Linked DNA regions of Homo sapiens: all the other regions are linked to region 3. Evidence: promoter capture Hi-C in 16 types of primary human blood cells and fetal thymus (Javierre and others, 2016). All regions are on one chromosome and are shown on one strand. Each heading gives the region's core, a stretch centred on a gene start or on the middle of the fragment in contact. The rest is flanking DNA. Distances are from core to core; before and after follow the strand shown. Region 1 overlaps XRCC1 (X-ray repair cross complementing 1). Region 2 overlaps XRCC1 (X-ray repair cross complementing 1). Region 3 holds the start of IRGC (immunity related GTPase cinema).

Region 1 (2,700 bases), core at 170-2,669, 140 kb before region 3:
CCAGCTATCTGGGAGGCTGAGGTGGGAGGATTGCCTGAGCCCAGGAGGTTGAGGCTACAGTGAGCCATGACTTTGCAACTGCACTCCAACCTGGGCAAGAGAGTGAGACCCTGTCTCAAAACATAACATAACAACCCAGAGATAAGCCTACTGCCTTGGTGGCCAGAAATGTCTGCCTTTATCAGTTACGTCAAAAGAATCAAAATTAGCATTTGATGAATCCAGAGTAACCCCACAAATTAGTCATTGCCAGATGCAATCAGTCATTCCAAAGGGTCTCTGACGTGGAGTAAGTTAACAAAACAACTGCTGCAATGCTGATCTCCCACTCCTGTGTGTGGCCCCTGCAGTTGATTGTCAACATGGAGCCAGCAGGATCCTGTGAAGGCCTAAGGCAGATCCTGTCCCTCCTCTGCTCGGAGCCCTCCGGTGGCTCCTATCTCACACCTGGAGTAAAAGCTCAAGTCCTTTCAATGGCTTTCCAGGCCTTAAGTGGTTTTTTAGGGGTTCCCAGTCCCACCCTGTTACCTCATCTCCTACCTCTCTCCCCCTGGCTGACTCCACCCCAGCCATACTGGCCTCCTTGCTGTCACAAGCCAGCTTCAGAGTCTTTTCCCTAGATACATACATAGCTCATGTTGCTCAAATGTCCCCTTTTCAGGGAGGCCTTCCCGGACCCTACTATTTAAATAAAAATCCTTGCCACTGCTCCAGCTCCAGCTGGGGCACTCTCATTCCCCTTCATTAAGTTCCTCCATAGCACTCATCATCCAACATATGTTTCACTGACTCATTTGTCAGTCTTTCCCTACTAACGTGAAAGCTCCACAAGACTGAATTTCTTTTGTTTTTAAGAGACAGCATCTCATTCTGTTGCCCAGGCTGGAGCGCAATGGTGCGATCATAGCTCACTACAGCCTTGATCTTCCAGGCTCAAGTGATCCTCCCGCCTCAGCCTCTGGAGTAGCTGGGACCACAGGCATAGGCCACCACGCTTGGCAGATTTTTGTATTTTTAGTAGAGATGAAGTTTCCCTGTGTTGCCCAAGCTGGTCTCGAACTGCCAGGCCTTGGCCTCCCAAAGTGCTGGGATTATAGGCGTGAGCTTACTGCACCCCACTGAGAGTGAATATTTTTTGTCTTCTGCTGTGTACTGCTGTATTAAAACAGTGCTTGGCCTACAGAAGGCACTTAATAAATACTTGACTAAATAAATGAGTGAATGAACAAATAAATCCATCATCTACTCCCGAGTCTATAGGTTCTTTCTCTGCACTGACAACTTCCCCACATTCTGTCTTCAGCTCCACATGTGATCCCCAACTGCCTCCTGGATGCCACCCCTAGAATGTCCCAAAGTCACATCAAACCTGGACATCCCAACTGAAACACATCACCTCCCCAAGCTGCTCCCTCTGGGGTTTACCATGTTGGTGACCGCTGCAATACTCCCTCAGTCTCTCCCAGGCCAGAGACAGGTTCTGTCTCTTCTGCCTCCAGTCACTCTGTTTCCACAGCAACTGGGGTAACAGAATGAAATGTGATTTCCCTGGAGTCACTTGATCATAAGAGAGCCCAGTGGAATCATCACCCACTAAGTAATAAAAACACAAATCCCTCCCTCTACACAAACACCTACATGTTGACAGAGCACTTGTGCAGACATTATGTCACCGAATTTTCACAACTCCGGGCTTGGATGTCATTATTCCCAATGGACACATGAGAAAACAGGTTAGAGAAATGAAACAATTTTCTTGAGGTCACCGATTAAGAGGAAGAGCTGGGGGCTTGAATCTAGATCTCAAGACTAAAACTGTCAGCAATCTGTATCTATCACAGTTTAAAAGACTGAGGTCAGGTGCAGTGGCTCATGCCTGTAATCCCAACATTTTGGGAGGCCAAGGTGGGTGGATCACTTAAATTAGCATTTGGTGCTCATTTGCCTTGAACTCCTGAGGTCAGGAGTTCAAGACCAGCCTAGCCAACATGGCAAAACTCGGTCTCTATTATAAATACAAAAATTAGCCAGGCATGTAAATTCCAACTACTCAGAAGGCTGAGGCATGAGAATCATTTGAACCTGGGAAGTGGAGGCCATTAGTTGACAGGCACTAAACACTGACATCAATTGGGGTGGACCAGATGATGTTACAGTAACAAAGGAGTCCCTAATCTCAGTGGTTTAAAACAACCAAGTTGTATTAACTTACACTGTAATAATGCTGTGTAACAAATCATCCTAAAACTGAGATCTTTTCTTTTTTTTTTTTTTTTTTTTTTTGAGATACAGTCTCACTCTGTCTCACAGGCCGGAGTGCAGTGAAACCATCACAGTTCACTGCAGCTTCAACCTTATGGGCTCAATCAATCCTCCCCGCTCAGCCTCCCTGGTAGCTGGGACTACAGGCATACGCCACCAAGCCCAGCTATTTTTTATAATTTTTCGTAGAGATAGGGTTTCCCCATGTTACCCAGGCTGGTCTCAAACTCCTGGGTTCAAGCGATTCACCCACCTCGACCTCCCAACATGAAAACTGAGACTTATACCAACAAGCATTCTTATAAGAATTTGTGGGATGGCTGCTTTGGCTGCAGTTTGGGAGGATTCAGGTCTCTTCCATGAGATTCCACAGTTTTCTGGGATTAGCAGTAACCTGGCAAATGTTCTCATGGCATATTATGGGAGCACAAAAGCCAA
Region 2 (2,700 bases), core at 55-2,554, 170 kb before region 3:
GCTGGAAAAGACAAGAAAACAGATTCTCCCCTCAAGCCTCCAGAAGGAACGCAGCCCTGCCTACCTTGATTTTTAGCCCAAGGATACCCATTTTGGACTTCAGACCTCCAAACCTGTAAGATCATAAATTTCTATTATTTTAAGCCACTGAGCTTGTGATAATTTGTTATAGCAGTAGTACAAAACTAACATGGTGAGTTATCGGTGGGAGTGTGAATGAGCAAACGAATGAGTGAACATGAAGTCTAAAGCCACCCTTAGCTGGGCAGTGTGGCTCAACACCTGTAATCCCAGCACTTTAGGAGGCCAAGGCGGGAAGACTGCTTGAGGCCAGAAGTTCGAGGCCAGCCTGGGCAACATAGTGAGAGCCCATCTCTACAAAAAATAGAAAATTTATCAGGTGTGGTGGTACATGCCTATAGTCCCAGCTGCTCAGGAGGCTGAAGCAGGAGGATCGCTTGGGCCCAGGAGTTCGAGGCTGGAGTGAACAATGATTGCACCACTGCACTTCAGCCTGGGCAACAGAGCAAGACCCTGTCTCTAATAATAATAATAATAATAATAATAATAATAATAATAATAAACCACCCTCATCTTAAAGATGCAAAAACAAAGGTCCAGAAAGAGACAGGAGTGAGACTGGTAGCCCTTGGTTGATGAGGCAAAAGTTGGGAAAGGGCTTGGAATGTCCAATAAAAGGTTACCCAAAGGTCAGATCTCAAACCTACCTCTGACCCTGGCCTCTGTCCTGCTCAAACCCCCTCCCAACCTTCCCACCCTCAGATTAAAGTCCAGGCTTCTCAGCCTGGAGTTCGCAGACCTTCAGGCCAGCCCTGTCCAAAAGACCTTTCTAGACTGATGCAAATGTTCTCTGTACTGCCTAATACAATAGCCACTGAGCAATTGAAATGCATGGCCAGTGTGACTATGGAAGTGAAGTTTACATTTCATTTCATTTCATTTTAATTAATTTAAATAGCCACCTGTACCCAGTGGTGATCACACTGGACAGCAGAGCTGCAAGGACTGTGCCTGGCTTTCTAAATCTGCCCCCAAAGCCTCTTTGCCAAAGGCAGCAATGCTCTTCTGCCTGCCTCAGGCTGCTTCCCACCTCCTGGCCCATGCTATGGCCTCTGCCTAGAGCACCATCCCATCCTCTGCCCTGATTCCCTCACAATCACCTCAATTCCCACTTAAATGTGGTGGAGCCTTGAAGGGGGTGCAGGGTTTGGGTAGGTTGCTTAAAATGTCCCTTCCTCCCATTCTACCTCCTAAATTAGGTGATGTAAAACCACAGTGGTGACATTCATTATACAGCTACTTCTGAAAACCCTGGAGGAAAGGCACTATCCCTGGCCTGGGGACGCTGAGGCTTCAGGAGAGAGACAAGCCTCATGGGTACCCAGGCCTCCAGCCACAAAGGGACAGCCAAGATACAGGTGTGGCTCAGAGGGCCAGAAAAAGTTGAGGGGCAGTGCTGAGGGTCAGATTCCCAGTTCCCTGCCTCTTGCCAACACAGGGATAAGGGGCCAAGCAGAAGAGACAAAGAGTTCCTTCTCTACCAGATCTCTGACGGAGGTGCCCAGCATTCTTCCCCAGGTCCCAGGGAGCCTCTTAGAGTTTTGGGAGACTCTTGGATGAGAACCAACTCATCTTTATTAAATGCATCGTGTGTGTGTGTGTGTGTGTGTGTGTGTGTGTGTGTGTATAGCACATACTTCAGGCTTGCGGCACCACCCCATAGAGCTGGTGAGGAAGTAACTTCTGCTTCTCATTGCAACTGTAGATCCATCGGGGACGAACGAATGCCAGGGAGGGGTTGTCCATCAGGGCCTGCAGGGTGGGGTGGAGTCCATACGGGAATGTGTCATCGAGGGGAGGACGGAGGAGATGCAAAGGTGTGCCCGGGTCTCCCATTCTCTGCCTCTTTGGTACTCACCTCCTCAAAGCTGGGATCCCATTCCTGTGCTGTGATCACAAACTGAACCCGGTCACTCATATAGTCCTCGAGCTCCCTGGCGGGAGAGAAGAAAAGAGGTAGAAGGCACATCAGGGAATCAGCACTGACGTCCTACTCCCCAGCCACTCTCAATGGCTGTCCCCACACTGTCCCCACCTATGCGCCTCTAGGTTGCCTCTAGGCTCCATTCTTTCATGTATCCATCTTGCCACAGCCACAATGACCAGAGCTCCCACAGTGGCTAATCCTCAGGCTGTCCCTTTCAGAAGCAGGGGTAGGGGTAGGGATCCTCGCCATACAGAAGAGGAAACTGAGGCAAGCAATGCACCCTGGGCTGCCGGTGGTGGGCAAGCTAGCATTCGGATTCCATGACCTGTGCCCACCTGCTGGGCATGGCCCTTCTCCATCCTCCTGATGGTCTTCTTTCCCACACCCCCACCCCTCCCAGCAGGTCCCTGAGCGTTCCCTTGGATCCATCACCCCTTCCCCACCCCAGTCCCTGGAGACTCACCCATTGAAGGCTGTGACGTATCGGATGAGTTTCCGCCGCTCGTCCCCAGGGAACTCCCCGTAAAGAAAGAAGTGCTTGCCCTGGAAGAAATCTGCAGGAGAGAAGGGGGCTAAGGTAAGCATGAGGCCCCAGGAGTTCCCAGGCACCAAACAGGAGTGACGAGGCTGACCCAGCAGCTGAGGAGAGGGCTGTCCACATGTGGGCAGGGATTGATGGCAGGCAGTGGACC
Region 3 (2,700 bases), core at 180-2,679:
TCTGTGTCTTTCCCTTCTCTCTTGGGCCAGGGGTGCGTGTCCATGCATTTTGGGAAGGAGTCCTTGCTGTCTGCTGGTCTGTGTGCTCGGTGTCCGGGGAAGTCTGAGAACCATGTTGTTCACTCTCTTCAGCTCTGTGTGTTTGTGTCAGTCAGTGAGAGCATGAGTGAGTCGTGTGTCTTTTGCCCTGCACCTCCCTTTCACCTGTGGCTTAAGAACTCTGTACTATGCGGCCAACAGCCCACTCTTCCCCAGCTCTCAGGGTGGCTCTGAGCTAGTCTATTCCCCTTCTGGGCCTCTCTCTCCTTAGTTGTTCTCAGAGGCTCCTTTCCAGAACTGGCCTGCAGATGGTCAGGAAAATCCTCTGAGTAGCGTTATTGTAAATTCCCTACAAGAGGAGAATGGAGAAGGCCCTGTGGAGCCTGGCCTGGGCAGAGAGGAAGCCCGGAGGGGAGACAGGACAGAGACACTTATAAAGGACAAGAAGGGGCCGGGTGTAGTGGCTACACCTGTAATCTTAGCGCTTTGGGAGGCGGCATAACCTGAGGTCAGGAGGTTTGGGAGGCGAGGCAGGCGGATAACCTGAGGTCAGGAGTTCAAGACCAGCCTAGGCAACATGGTGAAACCCCACCTCTACTAAAAAAAAAAAAAAAAAAAAAAAATTAGCCAAGCCTGGTGGTGCATGCTAGTAGTCCCAGCTACTCAGGAGGCTGAAGCAGGAGAATCACTTGAACCCAGGAGGCGGAGGTTGCAGTGAGCCAAGATTGTGTCACTGCACTCCAGCCTGGGTGACAGAGCAAGACACTGTTTCAAAAAAAGAAAAAAAAGAAATCAATGACTAAATTATTGGGCTTACAAGATAGCAGATCAGCCTCCCGAGTAGCTGGGACTACATGCATGCACCACATCTGGCTAATTTTTGTATTTTTAGTAGAGATGGAGTTTCACCACATTGCCCAGGCTGATCTCAAACTCCTGGCCTCAAGTGATGCACTCGCCTCGGCCTCCCAAAGTGCTGGCATTACAGGCGTGAGCCACTGTGCCCACCAGCAATGACCGAATTTGTATCATCAACTTTCACACTTCTCTGGGGAACTGACAGTCCCCTGGGTGGAGGGTGGAGTGGTAGCAGGGCCAAGCCCTTGGAAACCAATCTGTGAATCTGAGACTTTGTCCTTGGGGGGTGATGGAGACCATGGAGGATTTTGAACAGGTCTTGGTGTTAGAAAGATCTCTCTGGAGTCTTCAGGGGAACTGGAGGGCCCAGTGTGAGTGGGTGGTGACCCCATGAGCAGCTGGGGCTTGGGGTCCCTGCTCCACCTCCGGGCCCCACCCCCTGACATCACTGTCGCATTATTGCACCAGGTCTGGCTGACCAATAAGCTGCTGCTTGCTATGATAATGGGTCCTAGCAACGGTGTCTGACCTTGGCTAAGAGGGAAGGAGATCCTATCAGTGGGGAGAGTGTGAGGGGAGAGGGAGAGCCTGCAGGGCAGGTGAGTCCCCCAGGGCTCTCTCGCTGGGCCCCTGTGCGTGGGCGGAGCAGGAGCTTATGGTCTAATCCGGACCCCCTCAGCCCAAATTCCAACCACTGACTTGTCTGCCCCTTGCTGCCAGGACCTGTTCCAGGTTCCTACTCTTCCCACCGCAGACCATACTAGGGAGAGGGCACACCCAGGATAGGAGGCTCAGATCTGGAGGCAACAATGTCTTTTTTTTTTCCTTTTTTTTTTTCTGAGACGGAGTCTCGCTCTGTCGCCCAGGCTGGAGTGCAGTGGTGCAATCTTGGCTCACTGCAACCTCCGCCTCCTGGGTTCAAGAGCTGGGACTACAGGCATGCGCCACAACACCTGGCTAATTTTTGTATTTTTAGTGGAGATGGAGTTTCACCATGTTGGCCAGGCTGGTCTCGAACTCCTGACCTCAAGTGATCCACCCACCTCGGCCTCCCAAAGTGCTAGGATTACAGGCGTGAGCCACCATGCCCAGCCGGGAACAATGTCTTAAGGACATATTTCTGTGGGGGGTGGAGTGGGGTAGCAGAGGATGGGGTGAGTGGTAGGAGGTGAAGAGACGGGGTGCAGGGGGCAAGGAGACAATGCAGGAGGCAGGGACATGCAGCTGAAGGGAGAGTAGCTCTCTAGGTGGGTGAAGGAGCCTGGGGACCTGGGTTGGGGTCCTGGCTATGCCTCTGGATGAGGAGACCTCATTTGTCTTGTCTGAGCCTCAGTCCTTCTCCCTGTCAAATGGGGACAGTGATCCCAGACATGAGCAGCTCTCCCAGGGCACCCTGAAGACCCTTAGTGAGTAAATGTATTTTAGAGATGATGGGCCAGAGGAGGGTGAGTGGGAAGAGGGAGGACCAGGGAAGCTCCTGGTGAGGAGGAGGGATCTGAGGGGGGACCATCACGACAGGAGCTCTGGGCGGTGGGAGGGGAACTGAACCCCGGGAGGCAAGGGCTGCCATGGCAGGGGTGGGGTTTCATGGAAATGACTCCTGGTGTCCAGGTGGTCCCCATGTCTGGCTTCCCGAACCCAAGGGCGTCTGAACCCAAAGTCAGCCTAGGGCTAGCTGAACGGGGTTTGTGGGCATCACAGCAGCCCTGCGAGGTGGGGAGGAGTATCCCCCACGGGGCAGCTGAGGCTCAGACAGGGCGAGGACTTGCTCAAAGTCACACAGCTAAGAATATTACTAATGAT

The links. Contacts are between HindIII fragments. The CHiCAGO score rates a contact against its expected background, and 5 or more counts as called.
Region 1: a contact is called between a fragment that was not itself captured here and the fragment with the promoter of IRGC in region 3, in 1 of 17 cell types (neutrophils). The highest score is 5.1, in neutrophils.
Region 2: a fragment that was not itself captured here is called in contact with the fragment with the promoter of IRGC in region 3 in 3 of 17 cell types (neutrophils, monocytes and activated CD4 T cells); the score reaches 7.0 in neutrophils.

Annotation. Positions count from the first base shown.
Region 1 is chr19:43,570,668-43,573,367 of GRCh38, forward strand. All of the region lies in intron 2 of XRCC1 (X-ray repair cross complementing 1), which reads right to left. Among named protein-coding and RNA genes, the nearest start is that of XRCC1, 3.5 kb to the right of the region's middle. The HindIII fragment of the contact is 6,228 bases long and covers 1-2,700 here.
Region 2 is chr19:43,541,673-43,544,372 of GRCh38, forward strand. XRCC1 (X-ray repair cross complementing 1) reads right to left here. Exons shown (of 17, transcript NM_006297.3): 15 at 2,472-2,562; 16 at 1,940-2,015; 17 at 1,639-1,833. The coding sequence ends at 1,720. Among named protein-coding and RNA genes, the nearest start is that of ZNF575, 9.8 kb to the left of the region's middle. The HindIII fragment of the contact is 7,833 bases long and covers 1-2,700 here.
Region 3 is chr19:43,714,647-43,717,346 of GRCh38, forward strand. IRGC (immunity related GTPase cinema) reads left to right here and starts at 1,430. Exons shown (of 2, transcript NM_019612.4): 1 at 1,430-1,496. RefSeq lists an enhancer at 1,403-1,903. The HindIII fragment of the contact is 15,065 bases long and covers 1-2,700 here.